3 separate regions of the Homo sapiens genome follow, and all the other regions are linked to region 3. Evidence: promoter capture Hi-C in human tissues and cell types (Jung and others, 2019). All regions are on one chromosome and are shown on one strand. The core of a region is centred on a gene start or on the middle of the fragment in contact, and the rest is flanking DNA. Distances in the headings are between cores, read along the strand shown. Region 1 has its middle 41 kb from the start of SYPL1. Region 2 has its middle 46 kb from the start of SYPL1. Region 3 holds the start of HBP1 (HMG-box transcription factor 1).

Evidence for each region. Contacts are between HindIII fragments. The study calls those that stand out against the background at their distance.
Region 1: a fragment that was not itself captured here is called in contact with the fragment with the promoter of HBP1 in region 3 in 1 of the 25 tissues and cell types used here (hippocampus).
Region 2: a contact is called between a fragment that was not itself captured here and the fragment with the promoter of HBP1 in region 3, in 1 of the 25 tissues and cell types used here (dorsolateral prefrontal cortex).

What each region holds. Positions count from the first base shown.
Region 1 is chr7:106,151,941-106,154,640 of GRCh38, forward strand. No RefSeq gene overlaps it. Among named protein-coding and RNA genes, the nearest start is that of SYPL1, 41 kb to the left of the region's middle. The HindIII fragment of the contact is 3,135 bases long and covers 1-2,700 here.
Region 2 is chr7:106,064,935-106,067,634 of GRCh38, forward strand. No RefSeq gene overlaps it. Among named protein-coding and RNA genes, the nearest start is that of SYPL1, 46 kb to the right of the region's middle. The HindIII fragment of the contact is 5,558 bases long and covers 1-2,700 here.
Region 3 is chr7:107,167,648-107,170,347 of GRCh38, forward strand. It overlaps HBP1 (HMG-box transcription factor 1), which reads left to right and starts at 1,356. Exons shown (of 11, transcript NM_012257.4): 1 at 1,356-1,538. RefSeq lists silencers at 884-1,457, 1,476-1,575, 1,836-2,055 and an enhancer at 1,006-1,165. The HindIII fragment of the contact is 2,484 bases long and covers 468-2,700 here.

The sequences.
Region 1 (2,700 bases), core at 158-2,657, 1.0 Mb before region 3:
GAGCTCACAAGATGACTGCTGGACCATCCCTGCTGTGGCCGTGTCCCTGTTTCAGTCAGGATCGGACAGGGACAGGGGCAGATGCACCTCCCAAAAGGCCTCATCCCCAGGCTCGCCGGCATATTTAGTGACATTAATCTGTGCAAGAGGCTTGGAATGCAGTTTTTTGTTGTTGTTTCTTTTTAAACAAACATACTGTCCAAAGTTCTCTCACTAAGGAAGGAGGAAGAATAGACTTTGAGCAGGCAACAAGTACTGTCACATAGTCCAAAAGCTCTGATTCTCACAGAAAAGTCCATAATCTTTAAGTGCTGCAGAGATTTCAGGATCAAGGTAAATTTGTAAAAAGTTGGGAAACCAAAGGTATTATACAGTCCCATGGGAAGAGTTTGCTCAACAAGACGGTTCTTTTGCTGTAGTTGGTGAGCCAGGTTCTTGCTCCACGTTCACCCTCAGGGCTTGGTGGGGTTGGGGTTAGCCTGCTCTGCAGCTAGGCTGGCACCTGTCAGTACCTGGGTGATTGTTCCAACACAGACGGTACGTAGGAAGCTGGCACAAGAGCTGACGGTTCTTGTTTGTCATCCCCTATATTTCCTTGTGTCCCCACTCAGTTGGGCCTGCCTGCATTCTTTTGACAGTCGCTAAAGTCACAGACATACTTGACCTTGCAGTTTTTAGAGGGGACCTGTCACCTTTCAATAAACAAGAGGGAAGATCTTTGAGCAGTGAGTTCCAGAGACCCTGTTAAAAAGAAAAACCTTAGACAAGTTTAGCAGAGTTTAAGTGAGAAAAAAACAAAAACTCAGAAAACAAAAACACATGACATGTGAATCAGGCAGCCCTCTGATTCAGAACGGGTTCTAAGAACATGGTCAACAATGTGATCAAGTGTTATGGATGCACGGAAAACAGAAGTGAGGTACATATAGGGCTTAACTGGTTCCGGCTCAGCGTTTGCCTTATTTGATCGTTGGCAGCCAGGGATTGAAGGAAGCTCAGTTGCCGTGATGGCGGAGACTCAGCTATTTTTTACAAAAGCATACTCCTAAATTTAGGCTTTCAATTAGATTAGTAAGCCAGGCTGCCTGCAGTTAGTTAAGTAAGGACTTGGGTGCAAAGGCTTCCTCAGGCCAAATTTAGGTTATTTTAACATCCCCAATGGCCAGAGACAGGCTTCTTGGAAGCCAACTGCTTGGAGTAAAACTGTGATGACAATTCCTTTTGAAACATGTACTCCTTGAAATTTGGAAGACATTTTGGGCTAATAGATGTTCTCTGTGCCTGAAAATAAGGATGGCTTCTTCCAAAATGCAGGTGAGTCAGCCCTTCCCTGCAAAGAACTTGCTGACTGCTGCAATTAGGGGCAGTCCACAAAAGAAAAACCATAAGGCTGCATCAAAGCACTGGCTCCTCTCTCAGAGAACAGAGGAGAAGCTGCCCCTCAGAGGAAGGAAGGTGGCTTTCCAGGAGGCAGATGCTGAGTCAGGAGGAAGGTTGCTTCAGGATGTTATGTTAAAACAAAACAAAAAACAGACCAGGTGCCCTGGCTGACGCCTGTAATCCCAGCACTTTGGGAGGTCAACGCGGGCGGATCACTTGAGGTCAGGAGTTGAAGACCAGAGTGGCCAACGTGGTGAAACCCCGTCCCTACTAAAAATACAAAAATTAGCTGGGTGTGGTGGTGCATGCCTGTAATCCCAACTACTCGGGAGGCTGAGGCAGGAGAATCGCTTGAACCCGGGAGGCAGAGGTTGCAGTAAACTGAGATCGTGCCACTGCAATCCAGCGTGGGCGACAGAGAGAGACTCCGTTTCAAAACCAACCAACCAACCAAAAAAACAAGGCTGACCCCCACCCCCAGCAGAGGCTGAACTTAGAACAAGTACAGATCCCATCAGAACTATGATCTCTTTCAGATCAAAGAGGCTCATGGTACATTCTAGCTTTTCTTGTTCTCTGATTCTAGACATTTTCTGCCTTGAAATAGGAGATTTCCTGGGGTGCGCCCGCCCGCCTTGCCTCATCTCTCAAATACATTCCTGGGAGCAAGGAGCCCTGCAGCAGGCAGCTGCCCAGCGCTCAGCCCTCTGCTGCTCTCTGCTGGAATGTCGCTGCCAACACCACTAGTGCTTATCCTCAAAGCTTTGGCCAATTCCTGGTACTTCTTTTTGGCCTGTTAACAGAGAGAAGCTGACAAGCAAATTACAGACCTTTGTGACTTAGAACTGAATGCTAAGTAAAATCAATGCTCCGTTAACACAGAATGAGCAACATGACTGTTAAAAAAGCAATGATAGGGTCGGGCGCAGTGGTTCACGCCTGTAATCCCAGCACTTTGGGAGGCCAAGGCAGGTGGATCACGAGGTCAGAAGATCCAGACCATCCCGGCCAACATGGTGAAATCCCGTCTCTACTAAAAAAAAAAAAAAATTGCCAGGTGTGGTGGCGCGCTCCTGTAGTCCCAGCTACTCTGGAGGCGGAGGCAGGGGAATTGCTTGAACCCAGGAGGGGAGGTTGCAGTGAGCTGAGATGGTGCCACTGCAGCTTGGCGACAGAGCGAGACTCTGTCTCAGAAAAGAAAAAAAAAAAAAAAGGCAATGATAGAGACATCAGTTGCTTTTTAACTTAATTACCAGACAAGAAAGACCGTAAATTTCTTGTACTTAACAAGAAATGCTTCTCAATGGCCATATTGTGCAA
Region 2 (2,700 bases), core at 137-2,636, 1.1 Mb before region 3:
AGCAGACCTAAAGTGGGATGAGAGCAGAGGAACCCTGCGGCTGGGGCTCTCCACTCTTCCATCACGCTCTGTCCAGCAGGGCAACTGGAGGGAGCCATGAGCATGCGATGACCTGGCGGCTGCTCAGGATGGGAGGGACCACTGTCAGCCAGGACTGGCAGGACTGTGTGAGTCATCCTAGTGGGTGAGGGAGTCTTCCTGGGCTCTGGGAGCTATGAGTCCATGATTCCTGGGCATGTGAGGAAGCTGGTTAGGAGCTCAGCCAAAACTTAAACTCTCAATCCAGCACTCTTTACACTCCCACCACATCTGAGCTGAGACTTGAAGGGGTGGGGCATGGGTGATTCTGGTCCCAGGGACTAGAGCCTGGGGGCTCCCACCTTTTCCTCTGGTTCTGCACTGACCTGCCCTCTGGTTCTGCCCTGACCTGCCCTTGCCAAGCCCACTGGGCCGGCGAACAGTTGTTTCCATTTTCCCTGCAGCCTCTGTTCTGGGAACCAGGCCAGCATTCATAGCCTTTCCCCTCCTTTTCTTTTTGTAATAGAAACTGCTCAGGGCTGCCAGGAGCCAGCAGTGTGCTCCGCGGCTCACCGTTTGGCTGGACTGGAGGTGAAGCTTCTTGGTGGCTCCTTCCCAGCCTTCTATGGAAGCTGGAATCCACTCTCCCGAGGCCATTTCTCCTCCCGGGGTTCCCTCTCTGCAGCCTCAACCCCCCAGTGCCCTTTGTCCCCTAAAGCGAGCAGTTTGTTTTCAGTCCAATACCTCCAGGGGATGGGGGGGGGCGCCTGGAGGAGTGTCCCAGGAGAGGGTCCCACCAGCCACGCTGCCCTGAACCCCCTTAAAATGGGGGTGGTGTGACAGTAACTTAGAGACCACTTAGATGACCTCAGGCATTCTGAGAAATCTAAAGGCTGATCTGAAGCCAGAGGAGGAAAGTTCATTCACCTTTGTCCCAGCCCCTCCCCGACTCCAGGACTCTAGCGTTGGCTGTTTTTATTTGCAGTCCAGCGTCCGGAATGAGCGGAGTTCCTTTTGGGAAGGATGTGCGGCAGGTGTGCTCACTCTGCCCGGGAGCGTCTCCCCGCCGAGGAGCGCCCATGCTGACTGCGAATTGTTCCACACTGCACGCAGAGCATTCCTTTAGCAGCCTCTTGTTTTCTTAAGTGACTCTCTACAACTGTTTCCTTGGAGGCGTTTGTCTAAATAAGCTCTTCTTCTAGGCAAACTGGTGGGGGGAATTGATTCACTATCCTCAGAAATTAGGAAGCATGAAATTATACTGGCTCTGCTACCGGGGAACAAAGAGCAGGGGCGTGGTGTGCAGCGGCCAGTGCAGGGCCCAGGACAGGGTGTGGGGGCTAATCACAGCCCGCGGGGTGGGTGGGAAGTGCCCCAGCCCCAAGCTGGGACTGTGCTTCTCGGCACCTTCCACACCTTATGTAGCTCCCCTTTGGTCTCCACGTTTCTGGAAGTCACAGCTGCACCCTGGGTCACCTTAAGCTTTTTCACAGTGGACCACATGTGATTCTGAGTTACATTACTTTAACCTCAAGAGCTTGACTATTTTCTATATCGTGAAGTTATAAAAGGATAGTGGAATCTCACAGTCATTTGAGAGACAATACTTTTTTTCGACCATATGAATGTTTTGTACCATGGAGACAGTGTGAGCCAGGCTAGGAGGTCTGGTCAGAGACACTTATTTTATTTTTAGTTTTAGTTTTTGTAGAAATGAGAGTCTCACTATGTTGCCTAGGCAAGTCTTGAACTTCTGGCCTCAAGCAATCCTCCTACCTCGGCCTCCCAAAGTTTTAAGATTACAGGTGTGAGCCACTGCACCTGGCCAGACACACTTAGTTTAAGGAGCAATGTGCTATAGGCAAGAAAGCCAAATATATCTCAGGTCAAATCTGGCTCTGCTGTGTGATTTGGGGCAAATTAATGAACCTCTCTGCACTTCTGTTTCCTCATCCATCAAAGGGGAATAATAAAACCTATCTCACTGTGCTGTAAAGATTAAATAATGAAATGGATGCAAACTACCTCACATAGTACCTGGCCCACAGCAAGTTCTTAACTAAAGAGAACTCTCTTTCTCTTCTAAAACCTAGGATGCCTGAGGAGTCTAGGATTAGGAATCTCTGAATATTTACTAGTAGCATTGCTGGGGTGGATCAGAAATATTTGGGAAAAAAGTTAGGAGGAAAATGGCACCTATGAGGATGTCATAGTCATCAGCAATGAAGGATTTGAGAAGTTCTTTAGCAGAAATCAGGAGATTACCTCTTTCATTCAAACCCTAGCGAAGGATGCTTTACACTATGACTATGATTACAGAGAAATGAGAATATTTTCCATTTGTGATATAGAAAAACCATTCCCTTAACTGGGGGCCACATGCTGTAGGGAGTTCAATACCATTCTCCAAGTACATGAGGCCCAACCTACATCCTGGTTCTGTCTCTTTCCCCAGCCCTGGTCCTTTGCAAGAGGTAAAAGTCTTTATAAGTGCATGAGAATAACTGCTCAAAATCACTTTTAGGTTTCCCCCAAATTCTCCTGATCTCTAATAAAAACAAATAATTGAGGGGATGTGACATTACCCTTGGTCACTAGTGATTTAGAGCTTCTGTCCATTGCTCCTTGGAGCTGCTCATCCTCAAAGGTACCCCAGGCAGAGGCCAGCAGCGAGTTCAAGGC
Region 3 (2,700 bases), core at 106-2,605:
AAGCACAATTTAAATGATTAAACACTAAAGGTTCAAAGGGGGGAAAAAGCTTAATCATGCCTTTGTAATGTGAATGGTAAAGACACCAATTATTGACTAGATGCAGCCGACTGTGAATGGACAGCCATGTTTAAAGAGAAGTTAACTATAAAGCAGGGAAGCGTCTCTGGTGAGTCAGAGAATTCGTAACTTGAGGAACTCCTAGTGGAAATGAAGTGGAAAGACAGTTTCTTTCATCAATGAGAAAACGTCTAGAAGGAAAAGAGGGTTAATAAAACTCACCAGAGAAACTTACTGATAATGATTCACAAATTAAATCAGTTTACGTCATACATTACACCCTTTGTATTACGTTAACCAACGAGCATACTAATCAGTATGGAAAATGCCGCTTTAACTTGCCTCAATTTCGTAATCGCCCGCCCCCGCCCCCGCTTTGTAAATTCTCTAGACTCCAGCTTCTCGCTTGCTCACAGTCCATCCCCCAGCCTCACTCTTCCTGGCACTTAGGTGGCGGCTCAACAAACTTAGGTGAACTGAACAGAGCTGACAAGGCAATCTCAAGTTGCTGTCCTGGGAGTGGTGAGGCAAGGCACAAGAGAAAGGACTTCTAGTTCTTCCCACTGCCAGTGCAGCCCCCAGCATCACTTTCGACCCCTTCGTGCCTGGGGCCGTGATTTGTGGGTGATCAAGTCCCTCGCTAGCCTGCAGTACTTCCGCTGGTGCAGTCATCTCCTTCCCCTCGCACTAAAACAATACCCTGGCCTCCTGCCAAACTCTTGAGCAGCGAGCAACTCTGGCTGTTTATGGCCCGGATTGGGTGCTGCAAGAGGCTTGGGCCGCTCTAAGTGTTAGCAGAGGCCCGGAGGAAAAGAAGAGGCCCAAGCTTTAAAACACTCCCTTCCTCCGCCCCCTCCCTTTTGTCCCAGACACCAAAACAAACGAGCTGATACACGTGTCCCTATGACTCTTGTTTACTATCAAGACTGCGCTGTGCGAGCGCCTCTGGGATACGTAGTCCAGCTCTTCCCCGGCCAGCAGTCTCCCACAGCCAAGGACCAAGGCTTGAGACTACGAACCCACAATCCATTTCGGGGACAAAGTTTGGCTTGGGTCCCCGGACTCTCGGCAATAGTCCAATCCGAAGCACTTACTCTTGTGATTGACATGCCATCTTCTCCAGTAAACACAACACAAAAGTCAATACATGCCCGCCCCCCGAGACGGACCACGGTACCACCCAATGGGAAAGGGGAAGAACCGAATGGCAGTTCTGCAGTCCAATAAGAGGGCGAAAGAGCTGGGCGGGGCTCAACCCCCAGGGGGTTGAGGGGAGGGGGAAGACGAAGCTTGAAAGACTTGGTAATGGCGACGGGTTTGGTAAGTAGGAAAGTTTCGGTTGAGGAGTAAGAGCTGCCGCGGGAGCAGTAACCCGCGCGGGGGAGGCCGACGTCGGTCGGAGAGGGGGTACGAGAGCTGCTGGTGGTGTTGTCGTGGCCGGAGCGGCCCGCGCCTGGGCTGCCGGCACTTCGCGGCAGGTTTGTTGTCTTTCAGTTAGGGAAGAGGTGGGGGTGGGGAAGGGAGGGGCAGGAGCGCGGGGGATTGGGCAGACTGGAGGGCTCGGGTCCTCGTTCCTTCTTCTCGGAGGGTTGCCCTTGGGGTGGGGGCAGTTAACCGTTCGATTGGTGCCCGCGGCGAGCCCACCGGAGCAGCGTCTCCCGCGAGCTCACCTGGGCTTCGGGGCGGCGGCGCTAGGGGGTCTCGGGCGGGGGCCGGGAGGAGGCAGGGGGAGGGCGAAGTTCCGGGCCAGGTCGCGCGGTGGGTGGCCGGGCCGGGTGTGGAGATGGGGCGGGCCAGGGCGGGGGAAGGGGCCGACGCAGCGCCGGGGCTGCCCAGGAAAGTTTGACTTCAACTCCCCGTTTGTGGGCGGAGGGTCGGAGCTTGGCCAGGGGTGGGGGGCTGGCCGGAGGTGGGGGACCCCAGTGAGGCGCCGCCTCCTTCTGGACTGAGGGGGATTCTGGCTGAGCTGAGGAGCTCGCGGAGCCGCTGGGCCCCGGGGCTCATTGTTACGCAGTTCGAATGAATGGGCTCCCAGGCGCCTGCGCGCTGGGGCTGAGCCGAGGGGAAAAACAAGCCCGGAGTCCGGGCTGCGGTCACATGATGGGGGGAAGGGAGGGGAACGCGATGAATGGCGAAAGAGGGTGGGGGATGGACTTGGCGTGAACCGGGAGGCACCGCTCTGTGTGACCCAAAGAGGAGGCTTGGCAGGCGATTCCAGTCTCCGCCTTTCAACCTATGCTGCCACCGCAGGCCGATTGAAACAAAACAAAACAAACCAGGCGAAGTGGACAGCCAGGTTTTTGTAGCTTTAAATGCTGCGTGCTGTCTAGGGTGTTTCACTCTCCGCTGTGCACTCTACACTCGAGTTCATTCTTAGGGAGTTTTCAGCTACAGTCGTTTTTAGAAGGAGCACTGACAGCGAGGTAATACTCAAGTTTTCTGTTTGTTTTGTTTTTGGCTCATGGTGCCACTGATGCCAGGACGAGAGGAGGCTTAGAAAAGGAGTTATACATACTGGGAAGCGATGGAGTCCTACTAACAGCTCGGATGGAGGCTTTAGCTTTATTAATACTTCCCTCTGAATAGCCGTAAGCACTCCTAATAGTGGTTTTGAAATTAAAGGTACTTTTTGAGAATTAG